Regions from separate parts of the Homo sapiens genome. Here all the other regions are linked to region 1. The links are contacts of gene promoters, found by promoter capture Hi-C in human tissues and cell types (Jung and others, 2019). All regions are on one chromosome and are shown on one strand. The core of a region is centred on a gene start or on the middle of the fragment in contact, and the rest is flanking DNA. Distances in the headings are between cores, read along the strand shown. Region 1 holds the start of KLF11 (KLF transcription factor 11). Region 2 overlaps ADAM17 (ADAM metallopeptidase domain 17). Region 3 holds the start of NOL10 (nucleolar protein 10).

Region 1 (3,686 bases), core at 1,187-3,686:
AGGTAAAGGTGACGCTCAGGTTTCTAGATCAAGGAACAGGGTCTCCAGTTGTACCCTTCACGGAGGTGAGAAATCCAGATTTGGCTGGAATCCGAGTTCAGTTTTTTGTTTGTTTTTTTGAGACTGAGTCTCTGACGCCCAGGCTGGAGTGCAGTGGTGCGATCTCGGCTCACTGCAATCTCTGCCTCCTGGGTTCAAGCGATTCTCCTGCCTTAGTCTCCTGAGTAGCTGGGATTACAGGCGCCTGCCACCGTGCCAGGCTAATTTTTGTATTTTTAGAAGAGACGGGGTTTCATCATGTTGGCCGGGCTGGTCTTCAACTCCTGACCTCAGGTGATCCGCCCGCCTCGGCCTCCCAAAGTGCTGGGATTACAGGCGTGAGCCACCGCGCCCGGCCCTGAGTTCAGTTTTTTTAAGGACACAATTAGAGGTGCTCACGGGATGTTCAAGCAGGGAGGCTGGTGGATACCTTCGATTCGCTCGTTCACCTACGTGGACTTATTAAACAGCCAGGCTCCCTGGCCTTGGGAGAGTCCTTCTGGTGGGGAGACAGATGATAAATAACTGAAGTAATGGAAAAGGGGCAGTTCAAGAAAAGTGTTGTGGAGGAAGAAAACAAGAAAGCCCGCCAGAAGGGGACTGGAGGTCGGCCCCGAGGGTGTGTCCGCTAGAGGGGGCCTCTCCAGGTGGACTGCGGGTGAGAGTAAAGGGGGCATGTGGGGGAAAAGCATTCTAGGGAACAGCAAGTGCGAGGACCTGGAGACGGCAGAGGGGCTGGTGGGACAGGCGCCCAAGAGGAGGCCCAGGCTGTCCCTCCGGGGCGTGGGGAGAGGCATGGGGCTGGGTCCCTGCAGGAGCTCACAAGCCACAGTGGGGAGCAGAAGCGTTACGCTGAGTACAGTGGGAGCCACTGAAAGGGTTAAAGACCCCTGGGGGTGCTGAGTGGGAAGAGGCTCTGGGAGCTGGAGTGGACGCAGGGAGACCAGTTATAAGGCGAATGCAGGAGTCCAGGCAAAAGAGAATATTCCAGTGTGTATCTTAAGACTTAACTTTTTACACACAGAACACCCTGCGCCCCTCTCAGAGCCTCCGGGGTCTTCATGCGAGCAGTTTATCACGGTTCTTTCGTCTTAAACCCTCTTACTATTTCAGCAAACACCCTCTCCTCAGCCTGGTCAACCCCTCTGCCCAACCCGAGTGGGCCCCGAAGGAACAAGTGGGGACCAGAGTCCTGCTCATGTGAGTGGTGGGGCCCAGCCCGTTCCCCTAAGACCAGAATTCTCTCGCTCAGAGCAAAGCCCCGGGGTGCCGGGATTCTCTCTCTGCTCCCGCTCCCTGGATGGAGCTTTTAAAAAAGGAGGATTCCTCACTGCGGCCTCTGCCCCTTGCACTGAGCGCCAACCCGCATCACAGCTCAGCAAAGGCGCGCGCAGTGAACAGACGGAGGAGGGGTGGCTCCTCGCTGAGCTGAAGGCTGCGGCGACGAAAATAAACAGCATGGTTCCTGCTCTCCACGAACCTGGCGCTGCAGACGTGGGCAAACCACACCAAGAGACGCGAGCAACCGAAATATAGGGAGAAAAAAAAAGGTGCCCTGGACAGCGGGCTAGATGTCTCCTGCAGGCTCGAGGACTTCCCGGAGGGGGCGGCGTTTTCTCGGGGCCTGGGAAGAATGGGCGGGTTTCAGCGGGCGCCTTCTGGGTGACTGCCCGTTTCGGCTTCCCCTGACCCCGTAACAGAGCGGAAGAGGCCCAGAGACGCCAGAGGAGGGGCGTCAGCGGGACACTCAGGCCAATAAGCTCTGACTCCCGCTGTCTGCAAAAATGACCGGATGCAGGAATGTCACCTAGAACCGGCCAGCTTTCCGACCTCTCCGGTCAAGGACGCATTCCTAAGAGACGAAGGGAGAATGACAGAAGTTAAAAACAACCAAACAAAAGCCAGGTTGAGGCCTCTAGGTGGGTCTCCGCTACCGATGGATTCAGCCGGTGGGGCTGCAGGAGGTTCCTATAAGCGTGGTCCCCTCTCCCCGCACCGAGTCCGGCCCCGGCCCTGGGATTTCCCCAGCCGCCGCCCCGCCCCCTCCGCCCCGCCGCCCCCGCCGCCCCGCCGCCCCCTCCGCCCCCGCCGCCCCCTCCGCCCCCGCCGCCCCCTCCGCCCCGCTTGCCCCTGGCGCCGCTGCGACCTTTCCCTTACTTTCCAGGGCCTCAGGCCCCGCCCCTCGCTCCGACCAAAACACGTGCCGCGTCCCGCCCTGCCCGATCACGCCGCGGCCAGGCTCCGATCACGCGGCCCCCCGCGGCGCTCATTGGCCGGCCGGGCACGAATTGGCTGGTGGTGGCCGGCCCCGCCCCGGCAGGGGCGCGGTGTATTTTGGTTCGCCTCCGCGCCCCGCCCCGCCAGCCGCTCCCTCCGCGGCCGCCCCGCCCCTCCCGCGCCGCGAGGGCCGCGCCGGGGCAGAGCCGCGCGGGCGGGCGAGGCGCGTGCCGGCCGCAGGAGCTCCGGGTTGCCGCCGCCGCCGCCGCCCGCAGCCCACGTGCGGCCGCTGCTGCGCCCGAGCTCACGCCCCGCGGCCGCTTTGTTGCTCCCGGCCGGCCTGCACGATGCACACGCCGGACTTCGCAGGCCCAGACGACGCGCGCGCAGTGAGTGGTGGGGCTGCCGCGGCGGGACTACTCGTCTGAGCGAGGGGCGAGGCGGGGGAAGTGGTGCGGCACTCGCGCGCCTGTAAATGCGGGAGGTGGGGCGTGCAGGGCTTCGCTGCGGCCGCGCCGGTAGGGGCCTGGGCGGGCTCCGGAGCCGGGCGGGGCGGCGGCCGCGACGGGCGCGCCCGGGTCGGCGGGGGCGAGGAGGGGGCGTGTTCCCCGCGCAGCTTTGTCTTGCGCTTCCTGGGCGGCCCCGCCCCGCTGGCCCCGCGGCTATTTCCAGCCATGACGTCACCCCGGTCCTGTGAGCCGGACGGCCGTTGGGCGGGGGAGCGGCTGGCGGGAACGCGGCACGCGGCCTTGGGGGCGGGGCAAGAGCTGCTGGCGGGAACGCGGCACGGTTTTGGGGGCGGGGCACGCGGCCGTCGGGCGGGTTAAGAGCGGCTAGCGGTAGTGCCGCTCGGGCCTGGGGGCGGGCAAGGTCTAGGGGCCGGGGCAACGACGGGAGGCGGGAGCGCCGCACTGCCTTGGAGGCGGGGCAACGCTTGGAGGCGGGAACGCGGCACGCGAGCGTTGGGGGCCCTAAGCGTCGCGACCTGGGGGCTTCGGGGAGGTAGCCGTGGACGTGGGCAGAGCGCGGGCCTCGTGGTGTGCGGGCACTGTGGGCCGGGCGAGCCCCTTCCCGCCCGTGTGGTGAGTCGGCCTCGGCGCCCGGTTCTGTGACATCACAGGGGGTTTAGTGGCGCAGCCTGCGGGACAGAGGCCGGGGATTTGAGGTGGCCTCGTCTTGTTTGATCTCGGGGAACCTCGGCAGACGGAAAGCTTTGATGCTTTGGTGCATGGCAGATAGAGAGGAAACGTGTATCTTCGTACATTTAAAGTTTCCTTTCCTTTTTTTTTTTTTTGATAGGGAGTCTCGCTCTATCGCCCAGGCCGGAGTGCAGTGGGCGCGCGATCTCGGCCCACTGTAACCTCCCTGGGAGGGAGGGGTATTACTCTTCTCAGAGTAATATCACCCTCTCGCCCCCGGCTTAGTTTTCT
Region 2 (3,761 bases), core at 680-3,179, 550 kb before region 1:
AGAAAGAAACAGCAAGAAGGTCATTCCCTACAAATACAATTCAGTTAGTGAGTACTATTTCATCACAGGCTATTCCTAACACTAACTGAAGAACTTAGAACCTGAGTTGTAGAAAGTGATAGCAGGCTCAACAGATGACAATCCATTTCTCACCCAAGCTTTAGTTATGCCACCAGTCTAGAAGTGTTTCCTTTGCACTCAAAGGAAATACATTTTGGCGTTAAGTACAGAAAGAGGCAAGGTTTAAGTGCTATGTTTTCTGAGAAATTTATCCCTCTGTGGGCAGGGGAATAATAAAGGCATCTTCCTGTGCATGAAATGACAAATGTCCCAGATGCTGGGTACACCAGGACCGCACTGACTGGAAGGGCAACTGGTAGGAAGACCCAGGTGGCTGGGCCTGCAGCATTCTTCGCACTGCCCCGGCCCATGGCCTCACTCTCTTAGCTGTCTCCACAGTTTCTGTGGACCATGCTCTGCTGGAGGAACTGGGCCTCAATCCCTACATCCTACTTCTGCAGAAGGCTAACCACATGGCCATCTGCTGCCCCATCCCTGCCTGTGGCTGAAGCATAATAGGTGACAGAGGGCAAGGACCAAGAATCCAGGACTAGGCTTCCTGTCTGGGTGCCATCAATGCATTCTATGACCAAAAACAAGCCATGGCCCTCCCTCCTATCGGAGGCTTTGCTCTGAAATCAAGGGTCGTGCCTTGTCCACATGTGCAACTTCCCTGTAAACAAAATAGGTTCCATCCTCCAATAGAAGCAATCGTGATGGATGGCACTGTCATCCAGAGACATCTGTCAAAGCTTCAAGCACGTCACCTTCAGCTTTCTTCAGCACAAGTGCTCCCTAGAGATCTTCCTATACCCATCATGCTCACCACCCTGAGGAAGAGCTGCTCTGTGAGATGGCCCCTAGGCAGGAGAAGCCAGCAGGAAAGGAAAGGAAGGAGGCAGTAGGAAAAACTCCTTTGTCATCAGAGTTGTGCTGGAATTTTTAAATGCTCATAGGAAGGCCACTATGAAAGAGTTTGGGAAAACAAGTCTGGAAGCCTGGGTGTGACTTTCTCATCTCTACAGCAGACAAATCCCCATTCCCCACAGATGCAAGTGAATGGATTCGTAAGAACATTTATGAAAAAGGGCCTCAAATTTATAAAGGACCAGGAGTTCCTTAGTCAAAGCCCAATTCAACTTGTAGCTGTTACTGATTCTGAATGAGAACAGAAAAGACTGCTTACTCTTATTTTTTGGGGAAGATGTAAATACTCTATATGACAGCTGGGCCCCAGTCCCTACATCCTATTTGTGCAGAAGGCTGAAGACATAGCCATCTGCTGCCAATAATCTACATGATATATGGGGAACATCTGAAATGCCGATGTTTGATATTTGCTCTATTGCAACGAAGTCAGCCTGAAAATGCTCTTCAATAAGGGCTTTACTCATCAAAGGACCTGGACAAATCCAGTTAAACAGTCTCCTATGCTTAAAAGTATAAAATTCCTAAGAAATTTATATATTAAAACACCAACACACAAAAATAGTATTTTTTTTAAAAGACCATTAGTTAAGCTTTCTACAAGACATGTTCCCCTAGGAATAACAACAAAAAAAGCTATTGGAAATATCAGGCCAAACTTTGCTAAGAACAAGTTTTACCTTTTCCAGAGATTACATGGTTGGAGTTGATCAAAATTTAAATAAAACATTTAATTACTTAAAAGTTGATGACTTACCACACAATGGACAAGAATGCTGAAAGGAATCCAAAATATCAAGGAGAAAACCAGGACAGACCCAACGATGTTGTCTGCTAAAAACTTTCCTGTGAACAATTCCAAACAGTTAATGTCTTGACCAAGTACTTCACAAATCTAAAGTGAAATGCTCTTAGGATATTACCATTGTGTCAAATGCCAGAGCTGCTGGCTAGACATACTACCGAGAGCAGAATGTCTGTGCTGCCTGTATTACACCACACCATCTCTCCATACCAAGTGCTTTTAAAGAAATAGCCCTCATATACTGGCTGACAGGAAGAGATTGCAGAATATTCAACATGTTACCTGGAGTAGCTGTGTCAACAGATTAATATGGAATGCTACTACTAGTAAATGCTTAAGAAGACAAAGTTTTTGTTACCTGGATATTATTTTTGTGATTAAATTATGGACTCGTGACAACATGATATACCCTGCTTCTGCAAAATATGAGGCTCACTTTTACATCAAGCAGGATTCAGTATATAGCATTCAGTCAAATAAACACTCTTACATCAATCAGGATTCAGTCTATAGCATTAAACTATGCTTATGCTAATCACATGGATATTTTTGGGTAAAGAAGGAAGCCAGTATTTTGACTTTATTTCCCTTGTCAGAAAATCTGTGCATCCAAGCTCCACGGGGACAGACTATCTATGAGTTCATTTTATTCTAGCCAACAAAGTTGTTTCATAACTAAAGCTGTGAATAGTTCCACCTTCTACTGCAGAATTAAAGCACATCACTCTGAAAGCACACTTTTCTAATGTCATCACAGAAATTGACTCAGCTCTCAGTAAGTAATCTGGGGAAATCACCTACCAAAAGTATTGATGCTCAGCTGGTCAATGAAATCCCAAAATCGTTCAATTACATCCTGTACTCGTTTCTCACATTTGCCCTATGAAGAAAAAACATACATACAGCATCATTCCCAAACACAATGTATTCAGAAGCAATGTAGCTTTATAAAAATAACTGACATGTAAAGGGCTTCATTAAAATCAAACGTTTTCCCATCTTTGACACAAGGCAATAACTTCCGCGTAATGAGTACCCAAGAAAGTAGAACATCTGTCATTAACACTTTCATAATTACTCCATTTTTACAAGTGATTTAGAATTACCAGGAGACAAAAATCAAGGAAACCAGTTTGCTAAAGATGAGGCATTCCAGTAAGGACTCTACACATACACAGTGGACAGTGAACAACACAGCCAGACTCCCTGTGAAGCCTCGTAAATCTTAAAACCCTCTCCCATCATTCTGCATGAGAAAAATTATGCTTCTCTAGAGAACAAAAGGGTCTGGCTTAAGTAAGTCAAGCAGCCTTCTAGGTCTTTCCTACTCATTCAGCACCTGTTTCAAAATCACACCCTGAATAATTTTGCAATCTTAGTCAGTTCTGTAAGTAATCTAGGAAAACATAATTAGGACCCACTGCCTGAAACCAACCAACTTTACCATAAAGTCCCCACCCCAGTCCTTCTCAGTCTCTGGGCTCAAAGCCTCCCACCACAGAAGGAAACTACAGGCAGGGACCTGAAAGCACTCCGTCTTCTCCTCCTAAGTAATACCCGTAGATAACAATGGGCCAGAAGGATGTAGCCCCACTTGTGTTTTGATTTGTTTTCATCTGCAAAATCAAGTACTTACAAAATAAAAACTTCCTATCTGGCTGTTACAGAAAAAGCTGTACATAAATACTCACATTCATGTCACAAAATCCTACTGTACAGGGCTTTCCTTTCCTCAAAAATAAGTTCTTTTGTTCAGCATCGACATAGGGCACACAGCGGCCAGAAAGGTCCCTGCAGCACACCTTGCAGGAGTTGTCAGTTTCTGGAACAGAGAACACGCATTGACAGCTGGATTGTTCTGAGACCTGCCTCTCCTCCTGCCTCCTCTTTCCTCCCTGACCATGCTCCCAAAGAGGTAAGAAATCACATTTATTTTTTATTTAAATAGCTAATACTATCCATAGCCCCC
Region 3 (3,724 bases), core at 219-2,718, 650 kb after region 1:
TGGCTCCTCTTCATCATCCAAGTTTCTGCTCATATGTCACCTCTTGTAGAGAGGCCTTCCCCGAAGGTTTTATCCAAAACACTTTCTCTCAATATTTTATCCAAAACAGCTCTCTTCTAATCATTCACCACGAAAAGTACTTTTTGACTACCTTAAATTGCCTTATTTGCTCACTTGTTTATTTCCCTTTTCCCCAACAGGGAACCTTATCTGAAATGTCCACTATAGATCCCAATACTTAAAACAGAGTTGCTTGCACACAGTAACTTCTCAATACATGTGGAGAATGAATGAACAAAATGAGAAAGCTCATGGGGTGTGAAGAACAACTGGAAGACAGGGAATTATTCAAACCAGAATTTTAGGAAGAAAGGAAAAACCTAAGCACTGGCTCCAAATTTTTGTAGAAGCAGACGCATGGAAGGAGAGCTATATTTATTCTGTTTTCCAAGGGCAGGACTCAGGCCAACAGTGGCATGCTATAAGGTGACATATTTGAAAACCACTTTCTAACAAGTGCAGAGTCTCAAAATGGAAATGAGCTTCCACAAAAGGTAGTGCTCAGTGGTAGTGCTTGGACAGAGGCTGGATCATCACGTATAAGAAACAAAAGACAAGTTTCAGAGCCTAAGTGTGTCATGCTGGACAAGTCACCCTTCCCCTTGCTGGATCTCAGCTGCATATTAAACGCATTATTAAATCTCAGCTGCATTACTAAACACGAGAAGATTGGAAGAGAATTACCGACTTGTCCAAGCCCTCTCCAACTTTAAGACTAGGAATCAGGTTAAGTTCAACAAGTCTCGAAAATACTGTCCTCTACACCATAAATTCTGCAGATGCGAAGTCTGTATCTCCCTTGTTCACTGTTGTATCCCTAAGACCTGGCAAATGATAGGGACTCCACAAACAGCTGATGGCCATATGGGGGAGAGATGTGTCAACGAATCTGCCACGTTTTCCTCCTCGATGTACGGCAGGGACTGTGAACACCCAAAGAGGCCCAAATGGTTGCGTTCTCTGGAACAGAGAACTTTACAAAAGTTCCAGCAAAGCTCACTGACCCTGATTATCCCTTGGTCCAGTTTCTGGCGCGGTGACGGCAGTGTCCTTGTCTCCCAATGCCGACACCTCCCCCGGAAATTGTCAGCCGCCTCTGGGCCTCCCCGAGTCGGGGGGTGACCAGCGTCCAGCTAAAACAGAGGCTAGGGCCGAGGAGAGGGGCGGCTGCCCCACGAGGAGGACGACCCCCAAGAGCTCGAGAGTGAGGGGGCCGGGAAGTGACTCACCTCAGGAAGGGACTTGCCGCAGCTGAGGCTGTAAATCTTCACCTCATTGAGGCTGGAGACCTGCATGGCGCCGCACAACACTGTTCAAGTCCCGGGTCCTTTCCCACCAGCGTGCTCGAGCACCGTAATCCCGGGACCTCCGAGCCCCTGCTCCGCGGCGTGCGGCCGCTGGCGCCGACTGATGACGCACTTCCTGGAGCCGGAACACGCGGGCAAGTTCCCGGAAGAGGGAAGGTGGCTGAATCCGGGAAGAGCGGCGGCCGGGAGAAAAACTAGTGAGGCTCTGACAACCCGGCGTGGCTGTCGGCGACGCTGCTACGGGCAAGACTAGACACAAGCCGGGCGCGGTGGCTCACGCCTGTAATCCCAGCACTTTGGGAGGCTGAGGCGGGCGGATCACCTGAGGTCGGGAGTTCGAGACCAGCCTGACCAATATGGTGAAACCCCGTCTCTACTAAAAATACAAAAAAATTAGCCTTGCGTGGTGGCCGGCATCTGTAGTCCCAGCTACACGGGAGGTTGAGGCAGGAGAATTGCTTGAACCTGGGAGGCGGAGGTTGCAGTGAGCTGAGATCGCGCCGCTGCACTCCAGCCTGGGGGACAGAGCGAGATTCCCTCTCAAAAAAAAAAAAAAAAAAAAAAAAACTAGACACAGCTCTCCCTGCTGTTAGCATCCCGAGCGGCAGGAGGAGGCTTTCGAGTCTCTGCCCAGGCCGAGATGTCATCCTCCCGGGCGGGGGCGAGGCAGTTCAGCGAGTGAACCCAGCGAATGAAGGCGACCAGGGTGCGAATTCCGAGTGGAAGTGTATTCTCTTCTCTCCTCCAGTGTTTCTGCGATGTTACGTTAGAAGTACTGTAGGCCGGGTGCGGTGGCTCACGCCTGTAATCCTAACACTTTGGGAGGCCGAGGCGGGCGGATCACCTGAGGTCAGGAGTTCAAGACCAGCCTAGCCAAGATGGTGAAACCCCGTCTCTACTAAAAATACAAAAATCAGTCGGGCCTGGTGGCGCGCGCCTGTAATCTCAGCTACTCTGAAGGCTGAGGTGGGGGAATCGCCTGAACCCGGGAGGCAGAGGTTGCCGTCAGCTGAGATCGTGCCACTGCAGTCCAGCCTGGGCAACAGAGTGAGACTCCGTCTCAAAAAAAAAAAAAAAAAAAAAAGAAGACTGTGGCGTCATCTTCAACCCATTCCTATCTCTGGCCCTCACTTTCAGTATCTAAACCTGGATATTTCTAATTATGAAATATTTCCTTAAAGTAATCTGTTTTCATTCCTCCTGCTGAAACTCAAATACTTAACTATTTTTGGATTATAACTTTCCCAAGTGATCTTCTTACTTCCTTTGATTTAATGAACAAATTATTTTATGCCTTACTTTCTAAAACCCAAATATTATTGTTTTGCTCTCCTACCCACAACATTTTGGAAACTCTCAAATACCAACACCACATTGCATCAGAATTAGGTTGAGAGTTCTTCGTGGACCCTATATCATTTGTCCTTATATTCCCTATCCACCCCATCCACCCCTACCCAGAGTACCAGAACAGTGCCTGGCCTCTATTAGGCATTGCTACATATTTACATTTAGCCATGTACGTAGGGATATATTCCTTAACTCTGTCCTCAAATTTAAGATCCTCCACAAATTTTTAATTTTCTACACTGGTTACAGTTAAGAAAAACTGTAAACATCTTTGGGAAAGGTGGCATAATAGAATGGTTAGATCACAGACTCTGGCTTGGCTTGGTGGTGCAGGCCTATTGTCCTAGCTACTAGTGAAGCCGAAGCAGGAGAATCACTTGAGCCCAGGAGTTCTTGGCTGTAGCACGCAACGAGCGTTGGGTGTCCTCAGTTTGGCATCAATATGGTGACCCCACAAGAGCCAGGGACCACCATGTTACCTAAGGAGGTGTGAAGCGGCTCAGGTCAGAAATGGAGCAAGTCAAAACTCCCATGCTCACCAGTAATGGGATCATGCCTGTGACTAACACTGTACTCCAGCTTGGGCAACACAGCAAGACCCTATCTCTTGAAAAATAAATAAAGATCACAGACTCTGAAGCCAGACTGGCAAGATTCAAATCCCGACTGCCATTTTTAACTGAAAGACCTTAGGTAAGTTACCTAACCTCTCTGTACCTGTGTAAAATGGAGATAACAGTAGTATCCACTTCACAGAGTTATGAGGATGAAATACATTCATATTTATAAAACGTTTGGAACCCAGTACTTGGCACATAGTAAGACCATGTAAGTGTTTGTAAAATAAAACTGAAAATAAAGCCATATACCAAATAAGTGGAAATGTATCCAAATTCCATTAACATTTCCTTTTTAACAGTTTTATTGAGATATAATTAACATACTGTAAAATGTCCCCATTGAATGTACAATGTAATGACTTCTAGTGTATTCAGAGTTCTGCAACC

The links. The method cuts DNA at HindIII sites, captures the fragments that hold promoters and counts their contacts. A contact is called where the count stands out against the background at its distance.
Region 2: a contact is called between a fragment that was not itself captured here and the fragment with the promoter of KLF11 in region 1, in 1 of the 25 tissues and cell types used here (dorsolateral prefrontal cortex).
Region 3: the fragment with the promoter of NOL10 here is called in contact with the fragment with the promoter of KLF11 in region 1 in 2 of the 25 tissues and cell types used here (adrenal gland and small bowel).

What each region holds. Positions count from the first base shown.
Region 1 is chr2:10,041,114-10,044,799 of GRCh38, forward strand. KLF11 (KLF transcription factor 11) reads left to right here and starts at 2,437. Exons shown (of 4, transcript NM_003597.5): 1 at 2,437-2,645. The coding sequence starts at 2,604. KLF11-DT (KLF11 divergent transcript) reads right to left here and starts at 2,288. Exons shown (of 3, transcript NR_135558.1): 1 at 2,197-2,288; 2 at 1,520-1,891; 3 at 440-538. RefSeq lists a promoter at 1,695-2,594 and silencers at 2,281-2,510, 2,801-2,850, 2,971-3,020, 3,061-3,130. The HindIII fragment of the contact is 11,158 bases long and covers 1-3,686 here.
Region 2 is chr2:9,491,154-9,494,914 of GRCh38, forward strand. ADAM17 (ADAM metallopeptidase domain 17) reads right to left here. Exons shown (of 19, transcript NM_003183.6): 15 at 3,484-3,614; 16 at 2,594-2,672; 17 at 1,745-1,833. It also overlaps a transcript of IAH1 not described here. Among named protein-coding and RNA genes, the nearest start is that of IAH1, 18 kb to the left of the region's middle. The HindIII fragment of the contact is 5,937 bases long and covers 1-3,761 here.
Region 3 is chr2:10,688,507-10,692,230 of GRCh38, forward strand. It overlaps NOL10 (nucleolar protein 10), which reads right to left and starts at 1,469. Exons shown (of 21, transcript NM_024894.4): 1 at 1,290-1,469. The coding sequence starts at 1,355. It also overlaps the pseudogene RN7SL832P. RefSeq lists enhancers at 916-975, 1,036-1,315. The HindIII fragment of the contact is 16,217 bases long and covers 1-3,724 here.